2 separate regions of the Homo sapiens genome follow, and region 2 is linked to region 1. Evidence: promoter capture Hi-C in 16 types of primary human blood cells and fetal thymus (Javierre and others, 2016). All regions are on one chromosome and are shown on one strand. Each heading gives the region's core, a stretch centred on a gene start or on the middle of the fragment in contact. The rest is flanking DNA. Distances are from core to core; before and after follow the strand shown. Region 1 holds the start of ZBTB14 (zinc finger and BTB domain containing 14). Region 2 holds the start of PTPRM (protein tyrosine phosphatase receptor type M).

Region 1 (7,092 bases), core at 3,418-5,917:
GTGTCTTCTTTCATGATCCTTGAGGTGAGACTTGTGTTTGAAGGCTTTGTCACACATGTGGCACGCAAACGGTCTTTCATTACTGTGAACTCTCTCATGCTTCTTTAAGTCTGGGGCACGGATAAATGATTTTCCACACACCTCACAGCTATAGGGCTTATATCCTGTGTGGATTTTTAGGTGTTCTTTCAGGTGGGCCTGTGTGGTGAAACCTTTTGTGCACATTTCACAAACAAATGGCCTGTCCGCCGTGTGGAGTTTCTCATGCTTCCTCAATCTGCCTTCATCAGAAAACGTCTTCCCACACGCCTGGCAGGCAATCTGCTCCCGATGGTGACCATAAAGCAAATACTCAAACTTCATGTCACTGGCGGCTGTTGTCCAGCCTGGTGTCTGTTCATCTTTCACTTCACTCATCCCATCATTAAATGTTAAGGCTTGAGGGGTCTGGGACCCCAAGTCTTTTGATTCTGGGGTCTCCATGGATTCTACTTCCTGGCCGTAGCAATTGACCTTCCGAACTTCCTCACTCCCCAGCTCTTTCAGGATCGCTTCCTGAACCCTGAGCGTTGTGGTGGGCGACTTGCCGTCCTCCTGACTCGGGGGTGTGCCTTCTACTGTGTCATCAGAAGGACTGTCATCCTGATCCCCGATTTCCTCTACATCATCATCCTGGGTGTCAGCAGCATCTCCAATGGGGCGATTTATTTTAAGGCAATACTTACTTTTGGACTGACCATTGTTTTCATCGGGACTGGACACATCACGCTTCTGAGAACACAGTTTATCCAAAAATCGGATACCAAGAATCTGACCCGATGACATCATTAAGTTAACATCTTCTTTTTTCACGGAAATCTTTGCTGTGTACATGTAGTTCAGGACCTCTTCAAATATATCAGAACGAAGAAAATCTATTTCTATGACCGAAGAACTATCAACCTCAAGCTTCTTGAAAAGCTTTTTAAAGTAAGTGCTGCAGGCAGCAAGAACACATCTGTGTGCTCTGAATTTCACATCCTCAACCACAATAGCAATATCACAAAATTCTCCTTCCAGGCGTTGTTCATTTAGTGTTTTCAGAAACAGAGTTTTATGATCATCGTCATTATATTTAATGGTTTCAGACATACTGATGAAAAACTCCTACAAAAAAAAAAAAAGTTTAGTAATTATAAATAGTACTTTTCCATATAGAGAACACAGTCACATTTTCATTTCCTGGTCAATCTATGGAACCTAACAATTTCAGAAAGTCAATGTTAAGAGTGGTCTTTGAATATGGGTAGAAAAGACTGATCCCAACTCAAGGATCTCCATATTGTTACTCCTGTTCATCTTCAATTTACTAAGTATTTGCCTAGTTATATCCCAGGCATTGTTCTATGTGCTTTACATGTTTTAATTAATTTAATATTCAGGTAACCTCATGAGTACGTATCACTATCCTTATTTTAGAGACAAAGTTAGAAATCTGCCCAATATTCTATAGCTATTTAGTGAAGAGCTGGGACTTAAATGCAGACAATCTGGCTGCAAAACCAGTGCTTCCTGACTAGAGATAATCAAATAACTCAAACTCAAGTTTTAAGAAACAGGTTCAAGGGAACAATCCTCTAGTCCTCTCTGTTGCACCTACTCTTATTCCATCTACTCTATGGAGGATTCAGCAAAATAATTATGTTATACCTCCTTGACAGAAGGAACAAATTACTATTGCAGAACTAGAGAGGAACATTACTGCCAAAATATCCCATTGAGTGTTGTGTTCTAGATTTTCCACAGCACTTTTGGGCCACTTCTAAATGAAGGTCAAGGTTTAATCTGACCTTAAGAGAATGAGATGACATTTGGGAAGTGGCTTTGTTCTCTCTAGATGCCAATCTACCTGCATCCAGATAAAAGTGCCATCAACACCAGATGTAAGTACTTGATAAGTGCTGAGAGTATTTTATAAGCAAAAATTTGGAACTGGCATGAAAGATCTCTGTCATCATGTTAAAAAACTGGTCATCTTAAAGCATTCTCTATGTTTCCTTTTTAAAAACATTGTTTTACTTTTATTCGGCTAATATTTTCCCCCAGACAAATAGAAGTGTTCATGCACAATCAGAATTGGTATATATATTTTAAAGCAAATGCCAAGTCATTTTCATCAAGATTTAATATCCAAAGTTATAGTTACCATGAACAACTCAGGCTATTATCTTAATGCCTTGAACGCCAAAATCTTCAGATCAGAGTAACTCTGATCAGGAGCACGCCAGACCTACAGAGGAAAGGATAAACAAGAATGAGGTAGGATCTTCCTGTATCCCAAATCCTAAACCAAGAATTGATTTTTTAAAAATAAACTTTCTTGTTCCCTCTTTTGTGCATTTTCAGGTTGGGGAGAGTGGCAGGTAGGTAGCTGGTACATCAAGTGCAGTTCTGAACAGATATGGACTAGAACAGATAAGGGCTGTAGCACTCGGGCATAAAGGGGCTGTGCCCTAGGAACTGGAAGGAGGGGTTGGAGAACCATTAAGGGATTTCTCCTCACACACTAAGCTCATGTCCATATTTGTACAGAGATTGATGGCTACACAGATATAGAAAAAAACAAGTGCACCGTGCCCCCTACACCTATCCCATTTCCCGCTGGGTATGTTAGCCCTCTACATTTTTCTCTCGGCTCATACAAACCTATAGAAGTATATACCTTACAAATAAAGCTATAGAAGTACATAAACCCAACAGGTAACATGGGAGGAGAGGGAACAATGATTGCTTTTTCTTTCTGCACCTGTGTGATGTATTAATAGCATACACGTTTGTTTTTAAGATTGTATTTGATAAATCCAGGTGTTTTTACCTCTATCCCTACAATAAGGGTGAAAGAATTTCAGCTTTTTTGTGAGTTTTAACTCTTACCGGAAGAACTCCATCCTGCAGACCCATATCCTGAAAAACAAAAAGTTTCCTCTACTGAACAGTGACCACACAGATAAGTTGTTTGGTGTGGTAGGAGCAAAGGACTGGGCTGTAACAGTCTTACACAAAAACCATGGAACAAGACTCCAACCTGGAGACCAACACCTTGAAACCCATAATAAGCTCCTTCTAAAGAAAAGTGAACACACCGAGCTACCCAGCGTAGAAGCGGGATGTCTCATCTGAAGTTTGAGGTTAGGCAACATTTCCAAAAGATGATTCTGACTTGATCATTCTACGTGTTTCTGCCTCTCTATTCCCTAGAAGCACCCAGGCCTGTAATCATCCAGAGGCTAGGCAGCCCAGCAAAAACCTTACACTGTGACACTTACTACTGTTGTCACTAACTCGTCCTAGGGCTTGTGGGATAAAAGTGCATGGGACCAGAGAGAGGAGTGGCCTTAGACTAGCTATGACAACATATCAATGTGTTGTTGTTGTTTTGGCTAGTGTGTACTTGGCCACTCGCCCCTCTCCCCTCTCTCTCTCAAGATGTATGAGACCTGGAAGAGAGACCATGTGTGTCCAAAGCCGCCTCCTCCCCGCCCCGCCCCCCTTGCCATTGAGATGTCCAATTGCTCAGTTCAGGTGAGTCAAAACTGGAAGACAGCTGTTGCCAGCATCTGTGTAGGCAGGTGTAGGAAAAGACGTAGCCCCAACACCACCTTCATAATAAGGCTGCCCCTTCCTAATTGCTCTCCAAACTGCGGGCGCGCTAAGCCGCGTTACAGTGCAGGGAGCCGGGCTTCCCGCAAAGCCAAAAACTTACATAAGCAGCTGCAGCCGCCTCCCCTGCCCCGGGCAGCCCGACAATGGCGGCTGCACGACTTCCTTGTTGCAAGCTTGCAACTTCGGAGTCGGGAGGAAGCAGGGAGCCAAGCGCAGACCCAAGAAGCCCTCAAGGCGTATCGAGTCCTCCCTCTCAATTTCTTTGGGCCTGGGAGGTGGGGAGTGGAGGAGGCCGTTTGCACTCCTTCCCAGACAAAAGCTCCCAGCCTGGGAGCCAGGTGGTGAAAGGGCCACTTTCCCTTTCATAATCAGACGTCGAGCGCAGGCTTGGGACCGCGGCTCGGAGCGCGCAGGGAGGGACTGCGGCCCGCGGCGGCCCCGGCGGCGCGACGAGCGGGAGCGGGCGTGCGGCCGGCTCCGCAGCCCCGCGCCGCGCCGCGCCCCGCTCCGCCCGCGAGCCCGGAGCTCGCGCCCCGCGCACTCCCCGGCCAGCTCGCGCCGGGCCCTCCCCCGCCCTCCCGCGGCCGGGGGCGGGGGCGGCGCGCGGCCGGCTAACCCAAGCTCCGCGGGCGCACCCGGGAGTGCGTGCGCTGGGTCCCGGCCCCCTCCTCCGCCGGCGGCTGTAGGCGGCGCGGCGGGGCCCGCGGCTCGGAGGGGCGGCGCCCGGCGGGCCGCGCTCCGCGCTGGGTTCGGGCCGTCCCCACCCCCACCGCGGTGCACTGCGGCGGTGCGAGCGGGGGCGGCCATGAACTCGGCCGCCGAGGCTCTGCGAGCGCGCGCGCGGGGCCGCCGCCGCCTGGCCGCTCCCCGAGCCCGCTCGCCGGCCCGCGCGGCCCCCGGGGCGCCCCGGCCCCACGCCCAACCCTGGCCCACGCCCGTCCCCGCTCGCACCGCGCCGCGCCGCTGGCGGCCGCCGCACATCCTGGAGCTGGCTGGTGCCCCAGAGCTCGGCGAGAACGCGCGTCTTCCGGGCCGCCCCGCCAGCCGCCGGCCGCCCCCGCGCCCGCCTTGCGGACGGCCCCAGCCCCTTCCGCACCCTGGCCCGCGCTTACCTGCAGCCTGGCACAGGCACAGACACTGCCGTGGGTTCCCCGCGCTCGCTAGCAAACGCAGGCCGGGACCGGAGGGGCTCGGGGCGCGGGGGCACGGTGGGTGGCAGTGTGTTTTGGATTTTTTTTTGGAGTTTGGGGAGGGGGCGGGGTGGGGGAAATCGTGCACGTCCCTGATGGTAGCAGCCCTCCTCCTGCACGAGCACAGAATGTCTAGCCGGCCGTGAACACCCCCACCGCCCCCCCCTTCCCGTGCATGCGCGGTGCGGGCTGGGGGGAAGGCGCGCCGCCGGCTTGCGCAGGCACGGAACCCGACCGGGTCTCTAAGTGGGCGAGCAAAGAAAGGGTTAATCCGGGCCCTTGCCGACGCTTTCGTTGGAGACTACGGGGCCGCCCCCGGAGGGCCCTGGCCTGCGCACGCGCGCGCACGCGCGCGGCTTGGGGCGCGCGGAGCCCGCGCGCGGGAGAAGGAGTGGGCGGGGCAAGGGCGGGGCTTCGGGAGCCAGGGAACTTAAGCACGAGCGCTGCTCGCGGACACCCGCCCCGCCTCAAGCTCCCTCCCGCCCTGGTTCGTGGGCTTCCGCCCGCGCCCGGCGCCGGCGCAGCGCCGGGGACGCGGGAGCCAGCGCTCCCGTGCGTGTGCATGTGCGTGGGCCAGAGCCTCCCCCGGGCGCGCGCAGGCCGGGCGCTGAGGCTGCGGGGCTCTGCCGCGTCTCGGAGCGGGCGCCCCGGCCACTTTCGCCCTCCGCGCACACCGGCCGACACCGGGAGGCGCGCCCACGGGTCTGCGGTCTTGCCTCTTGCCGCCGGCACATTGAGTTTGTGGGGGAGTGGACGGTGCACAATAAACACTTGCAGAACAAATGGAAAAAGCGACGTCTTCGATTTGTAGTGTAAAGCGCAACCCCAGTTGCCCAGCAGAAAGGGATCACCCATAGGGCTTCGGAGCTAGTAGGTCCGCGCCCGGACACTCCAAGGAAAAGTCCAGGGGCTGGAGGCGGCGACCCGTCTGTGGCAGTCCAGACCCTGGACTCGATTCGGAGAGCTCTGATAACTTGGCTCTGTCCTTAACATCCCTGCTCAGCGCCAGTAATGGCTCCGTTGCTGTTGAACCACGTCGCCTTCCCTCTGACGCGGCGGCTGTGCCTGTGTCTGGCGTCGGGAGCTGGGAAGTCCCTCCCGCTCCCGCGTTTTCTGCTCACCGAGATGCAGGAGGCCGGACAGCAATGCCGCGCCGCCTTAGAGTCGCTCATGTTGCTTTACCTCACACGCGAAGTTTCCCCGAAACGCGTAATTTAATATCTAAAGATTAGAGCAGAAGCTTCCTCTTGGGCTTATTGAAGATGACATAAGATAGTGCTTGCAACAGGCACCTAAGTAAACATTTGGGAAATAATATGATGATTGGATGTGTTAATTTTCTAAAGGAAGTTCTATATGGCCTCAGTTGATTTTGTAATGTTAATTGACTTTGGTTTAACGTTCCCCAAGGCGACTTTATACGCATCTTTTTTGATGTTCACAAAAGCACCCAAGTTACGGCTTATATGGAGGAAATAGGATGGAAGAGACCGGTTGTAGAGTCAGACATATCCAGTTCACATATTGGGTAAATTGTTTAACTTCTCTAAACCTCAGCTGAAGGAGAGCTATGGAAAGCACCTAATAAGGCACTTGTAAGGATTAAGTGAAATAATGCCCAGCTAAGGTATTAGCTCCATGATGGAAAATCACCTGCACCCACAGATAGTGGGTTCCAGTGGCCTGGACAGAACCAGAACCAAGTCTTCTGCCACGAAAGTTCACACTCATCAGACATGATACCGTGTACTCGCTTTATTCTTGTTTGCGTAGCTCTTGAAGTTGCATTTCAATCCTGTGGATGCTGTGTGTTTATAGGGGGATAATAATAGTACTCTGTCATAGGGTTGCGTCACCAAGCAGTAAAGCAGCCACTGCAGTTAGCACAATGTGTGGACACGGCCAGTACTCAAGTCATGGCGCATCTGCTGCTGGCGCTCCCCCTTCTCCCATACCACATATGGGGTTTCCCACTCATTCTGCGTGTATTTTTGGTCTGCCTACTGTGTAAAGACAATCTTTTCGCATATGGCTAGGAAAAGACTTCCCACGTTTCCACTAACCCGATAACATAATTCACAAGAGTTCTAAAGCACTAGAATGCATTTCTCAAGTGACGGTTCCTGACATCCTGGTTTTGTATCAATGAATCCTCTTGTCTCATTTGTTTTATGTTCATGTCACCTGGGCTCTGCCTGGCTGTCCCTTGCTGGTTCACAGGGGTTGTGGGGATGAGTCTAAATTAAAGGGACAACTCTGT
Region 2 (7,092 bases), core at 2,862-5,361, 2.3 Mb after region 1:
ATTCAAAGAAAAGTCAAATGAATTAAACTGTCAAAACCTTCCTTTTAGATAGCAAGCATATCATACAGTCTTAAATAATGAGGGTTTCCTAGCAATGCCAAACATTCATTTTCTTGCTTCTCTTTTTGTTACAATTCATGGTTCTGGCAGAAGTCATACAGCAGTATAGCATTTGCATGCGGTTGAACGTGGTGATTGGCCAATATTTTGAAAAATTAACTAATTAATGTTACTGTTAAAATGGTAGATATGAAGTTATAACACATGAAACATAATACTGATTATTTATGTTAGCAACCAGGTGGACAATGAATGCTAGAATTGCTAAGTTTATGTTTTATTTACACATTAATAAGGTGTAATTAAATTTCCAAATATTAAATAAAATGTTTATGCTTTAAAAAAATAACTTTTCAGTGTTTATATTCATTGTCATAATTTGTATTTTGCATTTTAATTCTAATAGATAACTTTAAATCATTTGAAAGAAAACTTTTAACAACTATAGAAAAATAATTCTAATTTTCTGAAATAAAAAAAGGAATTTACATTTGTGGTGTAAGTACAAACATTTTGTATGATTTGACTACATTAATCCTTTATTTATTTATTTTTTAGAATTGGGATTTCATTCTTTACCCAGACGGAGTGTAGAGTGCACAGCTCATTGCAACCTCAAACTCCTAGGCTCAAATGATCCTCCAGCCTCAGCCTCCTGAGTAGGTGGGACTACAGGGATAAACCACCATGTTTGACTATTTAAAAAACTGTTTTGTAGTGACAGGATCTTGCCATGTTGTCCAAGCTGGTCTAGAAATCCTGGCCTCAAGTGATCCTCTGGCCTCTGCCTCTTGAGTCGCTGGGATTACAGGTGTGAGCCACCACATGGGGCCTGAATAGATGAATCTTTTAGATCAATGTTGTTCAATAGTGCTTTCTATGATGATGGACTTGTTTTCTCTCCATGTTGTACAATACATTAGCTCTAGCCACATGAAGCTACTGAGCATTTGAAATGTAGCTAGTGTCACTGAGGAACAGAACACCTGAAATGCTGTTAGGTGCTACCATACAGAACAGCAAAGCTTTCAATCACCGCTGTCAATGGAACACAAATTAAGTGAAAATCTCAATTATAACAACACAGTGATTTTACTAAAGAGAAATATCAATTTTATAGAATAAATATATATGAATCATGTATATTACTTATCCATATAGCCTATCAAAGAAAATCTAGATATGTATAATGTCTAGCAGATATGCATAATTCAGTTGCTGATATTTTGCTTTTTGTCATATAAAATCTGTAGGTTTTATATTTCAATTTTATTGTTATATGTGTCAAGGTAGGAATATACATAGTAGTTTGCTAGCTTAATTAATAACTTTGAAATATTAGGCATATGGTAAGTGGCTATGCATTTGTACTCTTGCCCAAGCCTACCAATGTCAGGGGCTGGCCTGACAGCACCCCTAACTCTGAGCAGCCATTCTGCAAATGTCACTATTGTCCTCAGTGAGTCAGGAGTGAAATGTGGTTAAAACTAAATCTCTACTGCTGAAAAAACAAGTCAAAGCAAATGTCCCACTGGGAGGATTCCTACAGCATCCCTTCCTTAGAGGAAGTCCAATCCATTCATTTCAGCAGAGGACTTCCATTTAGGCTCAAAGGCTGCTCTGACCAGTTACCTGTAAGAGGGAGTAAACTAACAGTAGTTGTCATGAATTGAGAGGGCAGAAGCTGCTGGCAAAAATCCCACCACCCTTTGAAATGTGGATGGAAGGCTGCAAAGGGTAGAGTCAACTTAACAGTGTAAAGATAGAGAACAGGGGTAATAGAAATTTACAGACCCTCCCACTAAGCTTTAAGTAACAGGCAGAAGGGACAGGGTTTGTAGAGGTTACCAAGAGGAGTCCTGTGGCAGCAGCAGTTGGAGTACTGGCAGGGATTTCTGTCTAATGCCTCAGTGGCAGGTCCGTAGAGTGGCCCTTTCCTCTTCCATCCAGCTCCTCATCGTCCCCCCGCAGGGGGATTGAGTTTCCCTTGCCCATAGTGGTAACCTGCTTATTGACACATCTCATATCGATGTCTGCTTTTTTTTTTCTTCTCTGTCTTGCTGTCTCACCTTCCTTATAGTGCTTTCTGGGATCACTTCCCCAATTCAAAACCACTTATAGTTAAATCCTAACCTCCAGGTCTGTTTCTGAGGGAGCCCAGCCTAAGACAACCTCCAGTACTTAGCACAGTGCCTGACATATGGTATTGACTCAGTAGATATTTGCTGAAAGAATAAAATACTTTGCAAATGAAATCCTACCCTAATATTAACTTCACCTAATTTAAAGAAGTTACTCTGAAGCAAAGTGATTAGATCAACTTTTGTCTCCCTAGCTTCCACCTCTGTCCTCCCACTAGCAGAAAAACTCCATTGGAAAGCCTATTACTAATTTTTTTTAAAGCAAATTTGAACTGCAGTATAGAACACAAGTACATCAAAATGGAAAGCCCAGGTTGCAGATTTGACCATCCTCACTTGCTGATCTTGAAGACATTGCTTCCTTTCTGAGATTTCAATGTTCATTTCACAATTAAAGATAAGGTTCCATAAGCACATAGTTGGGAGAAGTGGCAGGACAATGTAAGCTCATATTAACAAGCAAATGATTAATATAGAGACTTCTAAAGAGCAGGTCTGGTAAGTATCTAGTAAGTGGACTTCCTGAAGTAAGAGGAGTGTTGGTTGCCACACTAAAGGCAAGTCTTCTAGTCCCCAAATTTGCCTTGGGAGGATGACAGCTGTATCTTTCTTGGTTCTGGTGTACAGTGGAGAACAGGGTCAAGATGAGTGTGGAATCCATTTATTTTTTTACGTGTTTATAAGCACTAGAAAGCAGTGAGCACTAAGCAGAGGACCCCTCTTGCGGAAAAAGTGCAGGAGAGCTCCTGGGTGCCTCTGTATCACCGGTTTGCCTTCTAGCCAGAATCATTGCTAGAACCCTGTCACTCAGTTACTTTGGTTCCTAATTTAACCTCTTCCCAAGCCTTCTATTGCGTTCAGTTAGCTAGGCCAGGAGCTTACAGCTGTCTGGTTGGTGCTGGCTCAATGTGCTTATTCCCTGGAAGATAGAAGGATCACTTACAAAAAAATTTACAATTAAAATAAAAAAATTATTTTTTGCTGAAGCATTGTAAGGTTTTTTTAATTCACTCAGACCCAAAATCGTAAAACTAAAATATTTCAAGACATTACTTGATTCACCCCCCACTTCTCTTTCTCCCCTGTTTCTCAGCACTTTGCACCAGATACAGAAACCACGGGTTATGTCCAAACCCTGGTTTTGGTGTGACCACCGCCTTCCGTGTACTGCCTGCGGCTCGCTTCGGGCCCACACGGGACACCGAGGCATGATGAGGACGCAGAACAGCAGAAGCGCGCCCTGCTTCCCGGGCGCCAGTGCTCGGGGCCAGCGGCGTGTACCCGGCGGGCCCGGCCGGGAGCGGGCTGGCGATCGCGGGGCTCGGCGCTCCCGGCTCCCGCGCCATCTCCCGGCGCCCGCCAACTTCGCTCCGCCCGCGGCGTAGAGAAGCTCGCAGCCCTCCGGAGCCTCAGCGATCTCCTGGCTCGCTTTTCCCGCAGCCGCCGAGCAGCGCAGGCCCGGCGACTCCGGGTGCAGCTGGCCCTGTGCGGTGACATCGCCGTCCGGCGCCAGGCTCGAAGCCGCCTGGCCGCGCCCGCGGGGTCGCAGGCCGCTGGTCCCGCCCGGCCGCGCTCACAAACTACTCGCGGCTCGTGACCCGGGACAAACTTCTGGCGGCGGCGCAGCCTCTTCCACAGTCACCCTCCCCAGAGCCAGCTACCAAAATAGAAGACGCGGCCGGGGCGAGGAGGTGGGCGGGGGGAGCCCGGTGGCCGCTCCTCCCCGCGCGGCTGACGCCCGCTTCGGCGGCGGTAGTGGCTGTGGCCGCGGGGCCGCCCCCAGCCGAGCTCCCGGAGGCGCTCGGGCGCGGGCCGGCGGGGCACGGGCGCTCACGCCCTCTAGCGGGCCGCGGCGGCGCCGGGCGGCCGTGACGTGAGCGCTCCCTTCAGCCGGCCTGCGGGGCACCGCCAGTCAGTCGGGGAGCAAGAGCCCCGCGCGCAGCCGGCGCGGGCTCGGTCATCGGCGCGCCGCCGCCCGGGGCTGGGCTTGGGGCTGCCTGTGGAGAGGCGGCGGGCGGAACGCGCGCGGCCACGGCCACGGCCACCGCCACGGCCACGGCCGGCAGCTCGGGTCCCGGGTCCCGGGCAGGGGAAGGGGAGAGGCGGCGAGCTCAGCAACCGGAACCGAGGGAAGATTTTGGCTCCGCGGGCTCGCCCTCCGCTCCCTCTGCCAGCGGCGCCAGACGCCGAGTGGGGCCAGGGACAGGGGAGGAGGACCCAGGACCCTGTGCCCGCGCCCCTGGAGCCGCTGGAGTTCGGACTTCTGCAACTGTTGGCACTTTGGGGGCTTGGCTTAGCGCTCTGCTGTTTACCCGTCTCTCCTCGCTGCCTCGGAACCAAAGCTCCCGGCCCCCTCCGCCCTCGCGCGCCCACCCACCGCCGCCGGGGAGCGGCCCGGCCCGCACTCAGCACCATGAGGGGACTTGGGACTTGCCTGGCGACTTTGGCCGGACTTTTGCTAACTGCGGCGGGCGAGACGTTCTCAGGTAAGCGGGACCGCCTCTGCCGCCCCCGAGGCGCGCGGGCCGGCGCGGGACGCCCGGGACGCCGACAGCTCCCTGGTGGTAGAGCCCTAAGGCTGGCGTCGGGGCCGGGCGGGGGGCGCGGCGGGCCGGACACCGCTTCTGCCTGTGAGCCGGGCGCTGGGCGAGGGGCCGTGGGGCTGGCAGGCACCCAGTCCTCGGGCGGGCGGAGCGGACGGACCCCGAGGGCGAGCTCCCCAGCCGGGACTGCCAGCTCGGCCGCCGTCCTTCCGCGGCCTGGGCTAGTGCTCAAGGTTGGGCGGCTTGCACTCTTGAGTCCCTGGCCGGCTGCAAAAGGAACAGCAGAAAACTTTGCTTGAAGTTCCCAGTTGCAGCCGCCGGGCCGCCTGGCGTAGGCGCTGCGCGGTCCCCGCCGACCCCGAGCAGCGGCCGGGCCCAGGCCGCTGGTGTTCGGCTGCGCCCGCAGCGATCGCCGGGAACTGGCGGCCGCTCCGGCGGCGGCGATCTCCCGGTGCCCTGCCCTCCCTGTCGCCCCCTGCCCGGCGCGGCTGGCGACCCCGGGAGGTCCCCGCGGTCGTGCAGCGTCTGCGGAGAGGCTGGGGGGAGTTCCTCGCCGGTCCCAGCGGTAGGGCTTGGCGGCCGCGGAGGGAAGCGGGCAGGTCCCCAGGCCCTGGCCACGGCCCTGCGCCCCGCTGGGCTCCCCCTCCCCACCCTCGTCCCCCTAGCGGAGCGCCGCGGCCAGCTGCAACTTGTTCATCCAGCCCGGCTGCCCGGGGGTCCCAGGTGGGAAGGAGAGGCACTGGCGGTGTGCGAGCAAGCGTGTGAGTGTGTGCGCGTGTGTGCCTGCACGCGCGCGCGGGGGCGTTCTAAGCCCAGAGGAACCCCTCACGGAGAGGATCTGTGGATCGGAGTCGGGGGTCCGGCGTGGGGGCGAACCCGGCACGCTGTCACAGGGGTTTACAACCAGGATGACCTTTATTACCTGGGTGACACAGGTGGATAGACGGCAAATGCTGGCCCATTTGCACACCTTCTTTCTAGTGTTTATTAGATTAGTTTCATTAAGGTCCACATGCAGTGGGGGCGGTGGGCTTTCTTTTTCTTTAATAAAAAAGCCTGCTCTTTGGTCTTAAACTTGGTTTTTGCAAAATAGGTCTCTGCGTTTGGGAACAAGTGAGTTGAATGAGTAAGTTGGGCTTTTTAAGAATTTAATGAAGAGGACTTTCATAAACAGTAAAGAGCATATTTTAAGCAGTAAAAACCTTTGGTCCTCCGGTGCGTGGAAACCTTTTTATTTTCTTGGGGTCCAGGACCATTGGCTGCTGGAGCTCTGGACTCACAGGCACATTAGTTGTGTCTTGTGTGTTGCTGATCTGCAGGACCCTTGATCACAGTTGGCCTCAGAGAAGGAGTGGAACGTGTAGGTTTTGAAACCCAAAGCATCAACTTCAATACAGAAATATCCTTTCTCCAAGTTTTGTGTTTCCCTAACTGCCTGGTAATTGCACGTGCTCCAGAGGATTTAACACAATGATGCACTGTCGTCTGATTATAAAACTGATGCAGAATTTGGTCTGTGTTCTTATTAGTGAATAATAGAGTAGAATTTGAGAGCCTTGTAACTCATTAGTATTAGAAGCCAAGTATGAGAGCCCTAGTGATGGTTTTCTCTTTATTAACATCCATGACTCCCTTCTTGGGATTTGTTTAAAGTTAAGCTGTGTCAAATATCATTTGGATGGATTTTTAAATTGTGTGCAAGGGAGTGGAAACAAATATTTATATTGCTTATTTAAACCATGGGTTCCTCATCACCAAAAAGGATTTCAGCCTCAGTTGTACTGACCCATGTCCTTGTTAAGGCTGATGTAAATGATCAGTCAAGCCAAAATAGACTTCTACTAAAATTTAGCCTGATTTTTCATTTGGAAGAAATATATCTATTTGTTTGAGTTAATCATACCATTAAGTGAAATGTGTTTTCTTTTCTATCTAGAAAGCCAGAGTTATCCTGGCATGCTAGTGGGTAAAGGGCAGCATCCAAGCCATGCCTCAGAAACGTTGAACTTTAAAAAATGTAAAATTGGATTAGCTGGGTGTGGTGGCGTGTGACTGTAGTCCCAGCTGCTCTAGAGGCAGAGGCAGGAGGATAGCTTGAGCCCAGGAGTTTGAGGTTGCAGTGAGCTATGATTGCACCACTGCACCCCAGCCTGGGTGACAGAGTGAGAATCCGTCTCAAAAAAAAAGTGAAAAGTGAAGATGGCAAATTTCATATGTGCAAGGATCAGATATGTTTCACTTCATTATTTATTTTTCTCTCCATATTGCGTTTAGGTAGTACAGGTGTGAATCAGGGTTTTGTTTTTTGTTTTTGTATGTTGAGGAAGTTAATTCTGAATGCTAGGAGT

The links. The method cuts DNA at HindIII sites, captures the fragments that hold promoters and counts their contacts. A CHiCAGO score of 5 or more calls a contact.
Region 2: the fragment with the promoter of PTPRM here is called in contact with the fragment with the promoter of ZBTB14 in region 1 in 1 of 17 cell types (erythroblasts); the score reaches 5.6 in erythroblasts.

Annotation. Positions count from the first base shown.
Region 1 is chr18:5,291,059-5,298,150 of GRCh38, forward strand. It overlaps ZBTB14 (zinc finger and BTB domain containing 14), which reads right to left and starts at 4,668. Exons shown (of 4, transcript NM_001243702.2): 1 at 4,594-4,668; 2 at 2,914-2,943; 3 at 2,186-2,269; 4 at 1-1,146. The coding sequence starts at 2,188. RefSeq lists enhancers at 3,251-3,938, 3,939-4,625, 5,314-5,999, 5,717-5,876 and silencers at 4,067-5,006, 5,087-5,506. The HindIII fragment of the contact is 2,257 bases long and covers 3,814-6,070 here.
Region 2 is chr18:7,563,205-7,570,296 of GRCh38, forward strand. PTPRM (protein tyrosine phosphatase receptor type M) reads left to right here and starts at 4,112. Exons shown (of 33, transcript NM_001105244.2): 1 at 4,112-4,687. The coding sequence starts at 4,615. RefSeq lists a silencer at 3,793-4,162. The HindIII fragment of the contact is 6,488 bases long and covers 1,865-7,092 here.